Regions from separate parts of the Homo sapiens genome. Here regions 2 and 3 are each linked to region 1. The links are contacts of gene promoters, found by promoter capture Hi-C in human tissues and cell types (Jung and others, 2019). All regions are on one chromosome and are shown on one strand. Each heading gives the region's core, a stretch centred on a gene start or on the middle of the fragment in contact. The rest is flanking DNA. Distances are from core to core; before and after follow the strand shown.

Region 1 (4,770 bases), core at 1,596-4,095:
TGCACTGAGAGGGAAAGATACAGGGTAGGGGAAACAGAGGACTGGCATCCTATTCAGCCTCTTCTGGCCCCAGGTGAGTCAACACTGGGATTCACACCTAGAAACTGACAAGTATGAATCACTCCTAGGAAGGTTAAGAGGTATTTGTTTTTCTAGGTAAATGCCTCCACTTCTTTTCCATTTCTTTTTTTTTTTTTTTTTTTTTTGAATGGAGTTTTGCTCTCGTTGCCCAGGCTGGAGTGCAATGGTGTGATCTCAGCTAACCGCAATCTCTGCCTCCTGGGCTCAAGCAATTCTCCTGCCTCAGCCTCCCAAGTAGCTGGGATTACAGGCATTTGCCACCACACCTAGCTAATTTTTTTTGTATTTTTAGTAGAGACGGGGTTTCTCCATGCTGGTCAGGCTGGTCTTGAACTCCTGACCTCATGTGATCTGCCCGCCTCGGCCTCCCAAAGTGCTGGGATTACAGGCATGAGCCACTGTGCCTGGCCTTTTTTTTTTTTCTGAGACAGAGTGTTGCTCTGTCACCTAGGCTGGAGTGACGTGGCGCAACCTCACCTCACTGCAACCTCCACCTCCCAGGTTCAAGTGATTCTTCTGCCTCAGCCTCTTGAATAGCTAGGATTACAGCTGCCACCATCACGCCCAGCTAATTTTTGAATTTTTAGTAGAGATGGGGTTTCACCATGTTGGCCAGGCTGCTCTCGAACTCCTCACCTCAGGTTATCCACCTGCCTTGGCCTCCCAAAGTCCTGGGATTATAGGCATGAGCCACTGCGCCCAGACTTTTTTTTTTTTTTTTTTTTTTGAGACAGGGTCTGGCTTTGTCACCCAGGCTGGAGTGCAGTGGCTTGATCTCGCTCACTGTAACCTCCTCCTCTTGGGTTCAAGCGATTCTCATGCCTCAGCCTCCCACATAGCTGGGATTACAGGCGCCCACCTAGCTAATTTTTATTTTGTATTTTTAGTAGAGATGGGGTTTCACCATGTTGGGTAGGCTGGTCTTAAACTCCTGACCTCAGATGATCTGCCTGCCTCAGCCTCCCAGAGTTCTGGGATTACAGGCGTGAGCCACCACACCCGACCTTGTTTTTTTTTTTTTTTTTTTTTTGAGACAGAGTCTTGCTCTGTTGCCCAGGCTAGAGTGCAATGGCATGATCATTGCTCACAGCAGCCTTAACCTCCCAGGCTGAGGCCATTTTCTCACCTCAGCCTCCTGACTAGCTGGGACCACAGATGTGTACAACCATGTCTGGCTAATTTTTTACAATTTTATTTTATTTTTAGACAGGGTCTCATTTGCAGAACCCAATAGCTGGGACTACAGTCGTGTACCACCATGCCCAACTGTTTTTTGTTGTTGTTAGAGATGAAGATTCTCCACGTTGCCCAGGCTGGTCTCAAACTCCTGAGCTCAAGAGATCTGACCATCTTGGCCTCCCAAAGTGCTGGGATTACAGGCGTTAGCCATCGTGCCTAGTCATTTTATTTTATTTTATTTTATTGCGACAAGATCTTGCTCTGTCACCCATGTTTGGAGTACACCAGCACAATCCTGGCTCACTGTAGCCTCGACCTCTCAGGCTCAAGTGATCCTCCTATCTCAGCCTCCTGAATAGTTAGGACCACAGGCACATGCCACCACGCCCAGATAATTTGAGTTTTTGTAGAGACAAGGTCTCACTATGTTGCCCAGGCTCACCTAATTTTTACCAAACTTTTTGTAGAGACGGGGGTCTCATGTTGCTTAAATTGGTCTTGAACTCCTGGGCTCAAGAGTCATCTTATTCAATTAATAATTCTCTGTCTCCTAATTCCAGCAGACATAGAAAGACACAGAAGGCCAGCGCCATGGCTCACGCCTACAATCCCAGCAATTTGGGAGACTGAGGCTTGAGCCCAGAAGTTTACCACCAGCCTGGGCAACATGGTGAGACCCCGTCTCTCCATATATATATATAAAATAATAAAAATTATCCGGGCGTGTTGGCATGTGGCTATAGTCCAAGCTACTCAGAAGGCTGAGGTGGGAGGATCACTTGAGCCCGACAGGTGGAGGTTGCAGGGTTGCAGTGCGCCAACATCGCGCCACTGCACTCCAGCCTAGGCGACAGAGCGAGACCCTGTCTCAAAAAAACAAAAAACACCCCAAACAGAAACAACAACAACAACAAAAACCCCCACAGAAGGCAGTGAAGGCTTGGGATAGGATTACCTGGTTTAAACCCATAGAATGTCAGAATTGAAGGAAGACTTAGAGGTCACCTTTGTTTTTTTTTCTTTTGATACAGAGTCGCGTTCCGTTGCCCACCTGGAGTGCAGTGGCGCGATCACGGCTACCGCAGCCTCGACCTCCCGGGCTCAAGCGACCCTCCTGCCTCGGCCTCTCAAAGTGCTGGAGTTACAGGCGTGAGCCACTGCGCCCGGCCTAGAAGTCACCTTTCAACTTAGTCCTCTATACATGGGAAAAGTGAGGTCCAGAAAGGGTATGAGTTGTACCAGGTCGCTGACCCTGAACAGAAGCTAGATGTCTTAATTCCCAAATAGGACTCGCTGCTAACTCTTTGGGCATACCTTCGCGATTCAAGGCTCTTGGGTTTCCCGCTTTGGCCGCCTCGCCAAACCCAAGTCTTACACTCTTAGTGACCCCCTCCTTTCCTCCTTCCCCCTTAGGTCAGCAGGGTTTACTCATTCCAATTGCAATGCTCCATGTTGCCGGAGTAGCTCCTCGCTAGAAGAGAGATTAGTTATGTCACCGTCGGCTCCTCCCATTGGTCCGGGCGTGTGGAGCGCGGCGCCATGACGTCAGACGCCCAAATGAGTGGGGCGGTGAGGGGAAGGAGGAGGGAAGTAGGACTTCAACATGGCGGCTGCGGCACTGGCGGTGGCTACGGTGACGGCCTGGCCCGGAGCGGGCAGAGTTGGAGGTGGTGGCGTTCGCTCTCCCTAGGGGCTGTCGGGAGCTCAGCGGGGACCGAGCCTGGGAGGCCGGCCGGTGCCAGCACCTTTCGGCTTCTGAGACGGCGGCAGCAGCGGCATTCAGGTGAGGGGGGCCTCCCTCTGGGGGAGGGGGAAGAGGGGCGGAGTTGGGGGAGGGGGGCTGGTACTGGGAGACTGGGAAACGGGATGGGGGGCCGAGCGAGGTGAAGGGCGCCGGAGCTAGGAGGTGGGAGGGAAAAGTGGCCGGAGATCCGCGATTCGGGGAGGATTCTGGGAGAAGGGTCGGAGTGAGGGGACCGGAGTTGAAGGGGCGGAGGGGAAGTGGGATGCGGAAAAATGAGTTCGGATTAAGGAGACTAATACCCTACTGGAAGACAGGCATAGTAGACATCTATCGGGCTGGACTGAGAACTCGGTGGGAACTAGAGGATGTCAGGGAGGGGGACCCAGATTTTAGTAAAGAAGGTGAGTGGTGGGGAGTTGAGGGTGAGCTGGGGACGTGCGGTGTAGATTTAGTTCTCCCTGAGGCAATGAGATTGGGGAGAAAAGGTGGAGACTAGACCAGAGGTGAGTGATCTTTGGGGATATCTTTGGCCTTGTCTGGTCTTCTCCAGGTATGTTTATCCGCCTTTTTTGTTTCTTGGGTGGAGGCTTACCTATACAGTCCACCTGGGCCTCAGGAACCGCCCCAGTCTTTCTTGTGGAACGTCAGGTTCATTTATTTGAGCTATATCAGTGATCTTTGACCTTTGTTGCCAAATGTAATTGTTTCCAGACTAGCGTCTTAAAAGTATGGTTGGGCATAAAAATACGTTTTATGTTAAACTGAAAAAAAAATTGTTACTTTTAGTCACCATGCAGTGTTGCGAAACCAGATTTGGTAATTTAGTTAAGTATTACGTATATTCTGTTCTAACTTTACTCGTTAGTGCTTTGTCTCTTCAGTTATTAGCATTTGAGAATTTGAATAGATATGATGGATGTTTTCCTTTTTAATTTTGTCAGATTTGATGGTGGGAAAAACAAGATACTTAGTCTTTAGTGATATATAGTTCTTTCTAGTTAATGTCCCAACCTAAACTAAAAGTTTCCGTATTGGCCGGGCGCTGTGGCTCACGTCTGAAATCCCAGCACTTTGGGAGGCCGAGGCGGGCGGATCACGAGGTCAAGAGTTCAAGACCAGCCTGACCAACATGTTGAAACCCTTTCTCTACTAAAAAGCCAGCCGGGCGTGGTGGCAGGCGCCTGTAATCCCAGCTACTCGGGTGGCCGAGGCAGGAGAATGGCTTGAACCTGGGAGGCGGAGGTAGCAGTGAGCCTAGATCGCTGCATTGCACTCCAGCCTGGGCAACAGAGCGAGACTCCGACTCAAAAAAAAAAAAAAAGTTTACGTATTATGGCAAAGAATGTGAAATGTGTCAAGTCTTAAAAGAATTACATTGTCCGCATTAACTTACTATAAGTGAAATTTTATTAAATTTTTGTTTCTAGTTCTATTAATTCATGGTGTTTATTAAATAGCTACTGTGTGTTGCAATAATAAGAGTCATTATAATTACAGAAATGCTAAACTTAATGTTTCTTTAGTGAGTGACCATCGCTGTCATTGCACAGCAGATAACTTTACTAACCTGCTAGAACCTCATTGGAAAAAAAACTTTTTTTTTTTTTTGTTTCTTTTTATTTTTTTCCAGAGGGAGTCTCGGTCTGTTGCCCAGGCTGGAGTGCAGTGGCGCGATCTTGGCTTGCTGCAACCTCCGCCTCCTGGGTTCAAGTGACTGTCCTGCCTCAGCCTCCCGAGTAGCTGAGATTATAGACACCCACCACTAC
Region 2 (4,770 bases), core at 1,493-3,992, 260 kb before region 1:
TCTGAAAACGGGAGCTGATACAAGTAGGTCAGTGAAGGATTGAGGGGTGCTCTGCTGCTTTCCTTAGGCAAACATTTTCACTGTCATTTGTTTTCCTAACTTACTGCTGCTAATAGCAGGGATCAGGCAGATCACCCTATTTAATAAAAGTCCTAATTTTACCTGTAGACACTTACCTTTTTTCTAGGTAAGGTCCCAAGCTGTGGGTTAATAGGAGTATCGGTCCCATCTGATGACAGGACCATCGCTCTCAATTGTAGAGGCCAAAAGCAGAAAAAGTAGATTGTGACCCCAGGCTGGTTCTGACACAATCAATCAATCAATCACCTGACTAGCCATTTTATTTCCTCCTTTAACCTGATCTGAAGCAGCGATTTAGGAGTGAAAAGAGAGGCTGTAGCACCTTGGGCAACACTTCTAGGCCCTGAGCTTCCTGCCTGCTGGATTGGAGCACAGTTGTGGTTGGCCAACAGGAGATCTGCCTCCTTCCTATGGCCCTTGGTTACTCCCTGGCTTCTGACCTGACACAAGGTGAATGGTTGGTTGGGCTTTTCTGGAGCAGATATGTAGCCCCGGATCCACCAGCCTACCTCATGACACCCTCACTAGTCACGTGTTCTACCATAGCTTTTGACTGCCAATCAAGATTATGTTCAGTTGATGACAAGCAAAAGACAGGTATACCTGTTCATACTCTCCCTTAAGGCCTAGAACCCTGCTCTCAGTTCTTGGCTTTGCTTCAGATTGTAAAAGTCCACTGAGATTTGGAAAAGAAATTACCCTGCCCTGGTATCCAGTGGACAGGGCTCTGTGGGACACTGCCCTATCCCTAAGTCTCTTAAGGAGCTATAAGAAAAGCCAGGTTAACTTTGATCAACATGGCCTGGGCCCTGTAAGGAGGTTTAGCTGTCCTTACAGCCATTGTGATTTGGGCCAAGAGGGTCCAGTAAAAAGGAAAACCATTTCAAGCCTTTATAGCCTGTGTCAGAAGACTATGACCATGTGGGATCTCCTTTAGCCCTGTGAAGTCCAGGGCTTCTGCCCTGAGCTGCCCTTCAGTCACACCACACAGAGACCATGCATGCTCTCAGAACTTTATTAGGTGGGGATTGGGCAAGAGAAAACCCCTGAAACAGTTGCCCACGTGGTTCAAGACAACTAGAATGGAGATGTGTTGCTTGGAGATACCTTAGATTTTTAAAGGGGAGCTGACTGGCTGAATAACTCAGATTATTTTTTTTTTTTTCATGGTCAGCCAGTCTCTAGTAAGTCTCTAGGGACATGACCAGACCAGAAGCCCCTGTTCTATATGAAGACAAACAGGTGGCCATACTTGGGTGGAGGGATACCGCTGCTATTCCCAGATGAAGATTTGGTGGAAGGAGACCATGACAGATGACAAACGGAACAGTTTCTCAAAAACAGAGGTATGAAGTAATTACACAGGAAAGAAAACAATTTCCAAAGGAGTGAGACAAGTCGTGATTCTTCATTGGTACCTGACCCCTATACCCAAACAGCCTTGAACCAGCCCTTCCAGAGACTGCCCCTAGTGGCCCACTGGGCAGTGCAGGCTGTGAAGAAGACCTGAAGGCAGATGGGGTGGGGGTGCTTATTTTGCTACAGTGGAGAAGGGGCTTGAATGGGGAGGGCAGACCTGGCTAACATCTGCCGCCATCCCCCAACTCCCCCCCAGACTTCTATCACATTTACAAATACATACATAAATACATTACATACAGTAGCCAGTCTGGGAGGCAGACTCCCCACAGAGGCATGGCTGACACATGTCGGGAATTCTAGGAAAGGGCACTGGGCTCCCAAATACGTGCTCGTGTGTTCTCTCCTGCCCAGGATAAGCCTTGCCCCAGCCCACCCCTCTCTTCTGGGTTTAGTTTGTCCAGTATGGAGAGTTGCCGTAGGCAGGTTTGGAGGCTTGAGACTTGGGCTGCAGGGAGCTGGGCTGGCTGCGCTGACCCGAGCCACTCTGAGGAAGAGGAGAAGGGAAGGCTGTCAAGGCTGGAGCAGAACCCCTGGCCCAGAGTAGGGTGGCTGCCTCCATCACTGTACTCACCTGTGCATCCTGCGGAAGGTGGTGGTGCAGCAGCTGTGAGTGGGGCTGCTGGTGGGCTGGCAAGATGTGTAGGAATGGTGGGGGTGCATAGCCAGGGGCCGCTCCCGAGGCCAGGGGCCCAGTGGAGCCCAAGACCGAGGGCAGGCTGAAAGGTGGAGGCGTCCCTGCATGAAATCCCTGCTTGTCAAAAGTCTACAGGGCAAAGAAGACAATGGTGAAGGTCAGGTTGGGCTGTAACCTCTCAAAAACCTATACACCCAACCCACCTTTGTCCCTCACCTGTGTCTTATTGTAGACAGAACCAGTCATATCAGGTAGACCAGTGGTGCTTGAAGACACTGATACTCCTAGGAGGAAAAGCAGTTGTTCCCCACAGCAGTTGTTCCCAGCTCCAGGCTCCCCACCTCCAGGATCACTCAGGGGTTGCCCTGCCTGAGAGGGGATCAGGCAGGAGCCCACCACTCCAGGCCTTATCCTGGAAAGGAGAGGTAAACACTACCTTTGCCAGGCCCAGAACCTGCAGACTTGTTTGGTGCCTGCGATGATCCAGCATAGCCACCTTTGGAGTAGTCTCCTGCTGCTGTCCCCTGGGTCAGGTCGTCATAACCTAGCGTGGCAGGGTACAAGAGGCAAGTGTGAGCCAGGCAAGCCTGTCTAACCCCATGTGTCTCTGTCTGGGAAGTACCCCTCACCTGTACTGTAGCCGTGCTGGCCATAACCACTGGCCTGCTGGAAGGGAGGTGTGGGAGTGCTGAGGTTCACCCCATGTTGCTTGGCTGAGGCTGGAGGGACCTGGGGGGGCAAGCAGATGAGGTATTAGTGTAGGAAGAGGCAAGCTGAGGCTGGTCAGGTACCCCTGCCAGAGCCTAAGGCAGCAGGTGACATACCCACAACCACAGGGGACCTGTGTTTTCATTAGTGCAACACATGCTGGATCTAAACACAGCAGGGGAAAAGTGACCTTGTCCCCAGCCTGAACAGTTTCTGAAGACCAGGTAAGACGGAGTGGAATCACAACCCTCCCTCCCTGCTGGAAGATAGGTCCCAGGTTTCCACCTGCCAGCAACCCAAGGCCAGGAGACACAGTCACACCCTCTGAAATACTCACAAACATGGTGGGGCCATACTGGAAGGCACTGGGCATGCCTGTGTAGTAGGGAAGACCAGTGTAGCTATAGCCAGGTGGCAGTGCAGGATTCACGAAGGGCTGCTGGGCTGTGTGGTGGGTCTGTGATTGGCTCTGCTGTGGCTGAGCTGGTGTGGTAGCGGGTGCAGGGGATGCAGAGTCCCCACGGCCAAACTTTGTGACATCACCTAGGAAAGAGCACTGACTCCAGCCACTGCCCTTCCTCCAACCAGAGAAAGGCCACACTGGCTTCTGCAAACAGGAACAGGTCTGGCTGCCAGCTCAGCACAGGCTACTAAGAGGCCTCTCTCAGCTTGCTGTTGCTGCTTCCCAGCTCCTGGAGTTCGCGCTAGGCCGGCCCCGGGCTACTCCTCATCCATTGAGCAAACTCACCTGGATATGGATTATTAGCTAGGCTCCCATCTCGGCTGGCAAGCGCTGTGGGTGCAGCAAAGGGAATTCCATAGTAGTCCTAGGAGAGACCAGGGAGGCTTGATCAGCGACTGGCCCTGCTTGACTCCCAGGAGAGCAGAACCAGCACATGGAAGTGGTGACGCCACACTCCTGAAACAGACTCCATGCCTGAGAGCCAGCAGTCCCAGGGAACGCCAAGTAAATGGTGCCCCTCGGAAGAGTGTGCAACTAGGCGGCCTGCCTAACACATAAGCACACAGACCGGCCAACCCTGCAGCTTCACCAGGCAGAGCTGCTGGAGACCAAGCCTCACACATCCATTTGACACCACAGGCAGGTGCTTGTGTGAATGCCTCGGGCTGAACCAACTTCGCTGGCTTTTCTGTGTGAGAGACTAGAGCAGCTAGGAAAGCTGACTAAACAGAGCAGACCTGAAAAAGGAGGCAACAGAAGTGCAGGGGCCTGAAAGGTTTAAGGGGGGACAGGGGGCAGTGCCAGGTAGGCACGGGAATAAGCAGGACCCCAGGTGAAGCCCAGAACTGGCCTGTCACCACCTACACTGCTCTCAAAACACTGACATGGCCTAGGACAAGCTTGTCCAACCCACGGCCCATGACAGCTTTGAATGTGGCCCAACACAAATTCGTCTTTCTTAAAACATGAAATTTGTTTGCAATTTTTTTAAGCTCATCAGCTATCTTTAATGTTAGTGTATTTTATGTGTGGCCCAAGACAATTATTCTTTCAATGTGGCCCAAGGAAGCCAAAACATTGGACACCCCTGGCCCAGGACTTGGGGGAAGTATGGCAGATACAACAAAGTGTGGAGACAGAGACGGCAAAGCACAGTGGAGCTTCGTGGAGGAGGGGAGGTCTGACCTGACCCTCACTCACCATCCAGGGCCTCGCACTCCTGGACACACCTGGCCCCTGAGGAAAGGCAAAGCCCTTGGGCTGTGCCCGATCCCAGAAAGGAGCCATCCTGGCTGGGAATGGCACTCACACCCTCCAGGAAACCTCCCGGAAACCCATAGCAGCCTAGAACCCCCGGAAGAGGCAGAGCTGGGAACACACAGAGCTGCACAACTGAGGACGGGAGCAGAGAAAGCCCAGAAGGGGGAGCACTTTCACAGAACACGAGAATTCTCCAGGCAGG
Region 3 (4,770 bases), core at 978-3,477, 190 kb before region 1:
GGAGGGAGGGAAGGAAGGAAGGAAGGAAGGAAGGGGAGAGAAGAGGTACACTACAAAAAATAATGTCAGAATCATAGTAATTTTCACATTATCTCTATGAAATGGAAAACTTCTCTCTGCTTTTCTCTTTCCTCTCTTCAGGATACTGGTGAGAAGAACAGAATTGTTAAGATATAAGACAGTTGCTCCTTCCCCTATGATCATCACATATCTGGCAGATCCCAAGACAGGCCCCACTCCTTGCAGTTGCTTTTTACAACTCTGAAGCTAAGCTTCAGGAAAGTCCTAAAAAAAATCTCAGCAGAACTGCCAGCAGCCAGCAGCCCCTCTTTCACCCAAGCTGTCAAAGGGCCTGCTGGTAAACATACTTACCTGACATTCTAATAATTCCGCTTCAACCCAAATCCTTTGCAAAAATCCTCAATTACACTCCACTAGCAAAAAAGCTTATGAAAGATATACTCTATAGGAATGATTTTTCAAGTGGCTCCAGCTTGAATGCAAACTCTGCTCCACACTTACGACAACTTACTATCCAGCAAGGCCAACTGATCAAGCTAAGAACAAAAACCAAAACAAATAAAAAATAGGTAGGTAGTTTGCCTACATAGCTGCTTTTATATAAAGCGAACGTAATAGATTTTGACAGTAAAATTAAGTGCCCATTTTGTCGCCCAGATAGTTTAAATGGACTATGTTTTTGATTGTTTGCATTCTGTTCCTATTCACCGGTATATATACTGATGAGAAAATTATATGAACAGCCACCATACAGTCCCAGTAAGAATAGGAAGAACAGGTCAAATAAAACACCATACCCCCTGCAGAATTTATCTAGCATACTTGCGATTAAGAAAAACTATGGTGATTTTACATGGTCTGTTAACTTTTATTTATTTGGGGTTTATTAGTCTAAATAGAACCAAGGTAAACATATCAACTTTTTCCTCAAAGTAATAACAGTACCCATCCTAACAGATACTCAATCTCCAATTCACTGGTTATCCCCTATAATGTGTGGTGTTTTTTTTTGTTTTTTTTTTTTTGTTTTTGAGACAGAGTCTCACTGTCACCCAGGCCGGAGTGCCATGGCATGATCTCGGCTCACAGCAACCTCCGCCTCCCAGGTTCAAGCAATTCTCTGCCCCGGCCTCCAAGTAGCTGGGACTACAGGCACATGCCACCATACCCAGCTAATTTTTTTGTATTTTGAGTAGAGACAGGGTTTCACTATGATGGCCAGGCTGGTCTCGAACTCCTGACCTCGTGATCTGCTCGCCTCGGCCTCCAAAAGTGCTGGGATTACAGATGTGAGCCACGGTGCCCGGCCCCCCTATAATGTGTTTTTATAACAATAAATCTGTCTGATTTATGACATGGATCAGCTTGTAATCCTTAAACATGTCTCTAAACAACCAATCCAAATACATACTGTGACTAGATTCCTACTGTCAAAGGGTAAAAGTAAAGGATTCAACAGTGTAGTCAGTAGTGGGATTTCAGTCATGAAGATTTGACGATTTCTCTAAGACGCCCACTAATGCCAGCAGAAGCATGTGAGAGATCAAATACCCTAGGAAAGAAAACCCTCTCCCTGGTAAGAGGGGAAGAAGCTGGGTTACTATGTATTCCTAAAACCTTAAGAACAAAGGAATATCAGAACAATGATATTTTAACCAGAACAGGGTGGTAAGGACTAATCACACACATAACGTTGGTCTTATACTGTGACCGCCCTCCCTGGTGAGACACAGTAAAATTTAGGGGTCAATAAAGTCATTTTATTCTTTCTTTTTGTTACCTTCTATTTTCTTTTTCTTCCCAAGGTGTGTACTTCAGGGTTTAGGACCTAATAAATTAGCAGAGGTGTACGTGCCAACACTCTTCGTTGCCATCTTTCTATCTTTGACAATAGTAAGTTTGAAACTTACTTTACAGAAACCTGGTCCTAAATATAAAAAATACTAAGCAGTTTCAGCTTGTGGAAGACAGAATTATACTTGGTTTTTACCAATTTACTATGTGGCATATGACAAGAAACTTTACCTAGAATAATACTGAATCCCTGGGATTTTTTTATTTGAGACAGAGCATCACTCTGTCACACAGGCTAGAGTGCAATGGTACAATCTCGGCTCACTGCAGCCTCCACTTCCCCCAGTTCTCGTGCCTCAGCGTCCCGAGTAGCTGGAACTACAGGCACACACCACCATGCCCAGCTAATTTTTGTATTTTTATTAGAGATGGAGTTTTACCATGTTGGCCAGGGTGGTCTCGAACTACTAATGTCAAGTGATCTGCCCACCTTGGCCTCCCAAAGTGCTGGGATTACAGGTATGAGCCACCACACCCGGCCTGAATCCCTGGGATTTAAAAATATGGTCTCCAATTTAGCCTCAGCATTAAGGAAGTATCATCTAAGAAATTTGCAGGATGATATTCATCTGAAAAGGGACTAATATTCAGACAATACAAGGAATCTAAACAACTCAACAGCCAAAATATAAATAATCCCATTAAAAAGTATGCAAACAGCTGGGCATAGTAGCTCACACCTGTAATCCCTGAGATTTGGGACACTGAGGTAGGAGGACAGCTTGAGGCCAGGAGTTCCAGACCAACCTGGGCAACATTGCAAGACCCCATCTCTTAAAAAAAAAATTTTTTTTTTTCTTTAAATTAGCCAGGCATGGTGGGGCTCATGCCTATAGTCCCAGCTGCTCAGGAGGCTGAGGTGGAAGTATCACTTGAGCCCAGGATTTCAAGGTTGCAGTAAGTTATGATCATGCCACTGCACTCCAGCCTGGGCAACAGAGTGAGACACTGTCTCTTAAGAGAAAAAAAAACAGTAGACAAAGGATCTAAAAAGACAATATACAAATGGCCAAAAGGTACACAAAAAATGCTCATCACTAAACATCAATAAAATACAAATGAAAACCACAATGAGATATCATCTTACCCCAGTTAGAACGGCTATTATCAAAAAGACAAAAAATAGCCTGTAATCCCAACTACTGAGGTGGCTGAAACAGGAAGATTGCCTGAACCCAGGAGTTCAAGACTGCAATGAGTTATGATCATGACACTGCATTTAACTAATTAAGCAAATTAAACAGATGCTGGTGAAGATACAGGGAAAAGGGAACTCTCATACACTATTGGTGGGAATATAAACTGGTACAGCCATTTTGGAAAACAGTATGGAGATTTATCAAAAACAAAAAATTGAATTACCGTATGATCCAGCAATCCCATTAGCAGATATTTATACAAAGAAAAGGAAACCAATAGTGCTTCATGTTTGCCAGGTTGTGGTGGCTGTGGCAATTTCTATTTTTTTTTAATTTTTAACTTTTTACAGATACATAATATTTAAACAAATTTATGGGGTACATGTGGTACTTTGTTACATGCAGAGAATATATAATTATCAAGTTGAGGTATTTAGGATATCCGTTACCATGAGCATTTATCATTTCTATGTGTTGGGAACTTTTCAAGTCCTCACTTCTAGCTATTTTGAAGTGAAGCACTATTCACAATATTCACAAATATAGAGAATCAACCTAAGTGTTCATCAACAGATGAATGGATTTTAAAAAGTGATATATTTACAGGTTGGAATACTACTCAGCCATAAAAGAATGAAATCACGTCCTTTGGAGCAACATGAATGGACTTGGAAGACATTGTGTTAAATAAAATAAACCAGACACAGAAAGATAAATATCACACGTACTCACTCATGTGGGAGCTAAAAAGGTTATCTCATGCAGGTAGAGAGTGGAATGATAGTTACCAGAGGCAGAGAAGGTGATGGGTATAGAGGGTGGGGAATAAAGAGAGATTGGTGGATAGGTTAAAACACAGAGAGAAGGAATAAATTCTAGGCCGGGCTCGGTGGCTCATGCCTGTAATCCTACCGCTTTGGGAGGATTAGGCAGGTGGATCACTTGAGGCCAGGAGTTTGAGACCAGCCTGGCCAACATGGTAAAACCCCATGTCTAGCAAAAATACAAAAATTAGCTGGGCATGGTGGCGTGCACCTGTAGTCCCAGCTACTCAGGAGGGTAAGTAGGAGGATTGTTTGAGCCCAGGAGGTGGAGGTTGCAGTTAGCTGAGATGATGCCACTGCACTCCAGCCTGGGTGACAAAGTAAGACCCTGCATTTAATTATGCCTGGATAATTTTTGTATTTTTTTGTATTTTGTATTTTTTCTGAGACAGAGTCTTGCTCACTTGCCCAGGCTGGAGTGCAGTGAGGAGATCTCGGCTCACTGCAACCTCCACCTCTTGGGTCCAAGCAATTCTCCTGCCTTAGCCTCTCAAGTAGCTGGGACTACAGGTGCGTGCCACCACACTTAGCTATTTTTTATATTTTTTGGTAGAGACAGGGTTTCCTTGTGTTAGCCAGGCAGGGTCTCAAAAAAAGGGAATAAGTTCTAATGTTCAACAGTAGAGTAAGATGACTACTTAACAATTACGTATTATACACTTCAAAATAGCTAGAAGTGAGGACTAGAGCAAAAAGACTACAACTCACTGAAAGCTCAAATGATCATAGCCTTTTTTAGCAATAAAGTATTTTTAAAATAAGGTTTAAAAAACCCTATTGCATTGTATTCCAAACGTAATACAATTATAATTTGTCAATGCTTTTGGTTAGAGCTTTAAGTTTTAAATTATTCATAGGGCTTTCTCAGCTCATCCAAAAACAACCCTTTGGTTTCTTCAAAACTACATAACCCAAAATAGTTCATTTACAGG

What was found. The method cuts DNA at HindIII sites, captures the fragments that hold promoters and counts their contacts. A contact is called where the count stands out against the background at its distance.
Region 2: a contact is called between a fragment that was not itself captured here and the fragment with the promoter of UBAP1 in region 1, in 1 of the 25 tissues and cell types used here (dorsolateral prefrontal cortex).
Region 3: a fragment that was not itself captured here is called in contact with the fragment with the promoter of UBAP1 in region 1 in 2 of the 25 tissues and cell types used here (dorsolateral prefrontal cortex and heart left ventricle).

What each region holds. Positions count from the first base shown.
Region 1 is chr9:34,176,198-34,180,967 of GRCh38, forward strand. UBAP1 (ubiquitin associated protein 1) reads left to right here and starts at 2,846. Exons shown (of 7, transcript NM_016525.5): 1 at 2,846-3,043. RefSeq lists a silencer at 1-208 and enhancers at 1,895-2,853, 2,659-3,088, 2,854-3,810, 3,811-4,768. The HindIII fragment of the contact is 11,539 bases long and covers 1-4,770 here.
Region 2 is chr9:33,920,613-33,925,382 of GRCh38, forward strand. It overlaps UBAP2 (ubiquitin associated protein 2), which reads right to left. Exons shown (of 29, transcript NM_001370062.2): 23 at 3,594-3,672; 24 at 3,183-3,388; 25 at 2,767-2,866; 26 at 2,574-2,681; 27 at 2,354-2,421; 28 at 2,075-2,266; 29 at 1,081-1,987. The coding sequence ends at 1,892. Among named protein-coding and RNA genes, the nearest start is that of SNORD121B, 11 kb to the right of the region's middle. RefSeq lists an enhancer at 4,504-4,743. The HindIII fragment of the contact is 6,345 bases long and covers 1-4,770 here.
Region 3 is chr9:33,981,848-33,986,617 of GRCh38, forward strand. All of the region lies in intron 6 of UBAP2 (ubiquitin associated protein 2), which reads right to left. Among named protein-coding and RNA genes, the nearest start is that of SNORD121A, 31 kb to the left of the region's middle. The HindIII fragment of the contact is 4,647 bases long and covers 1-4,551 here.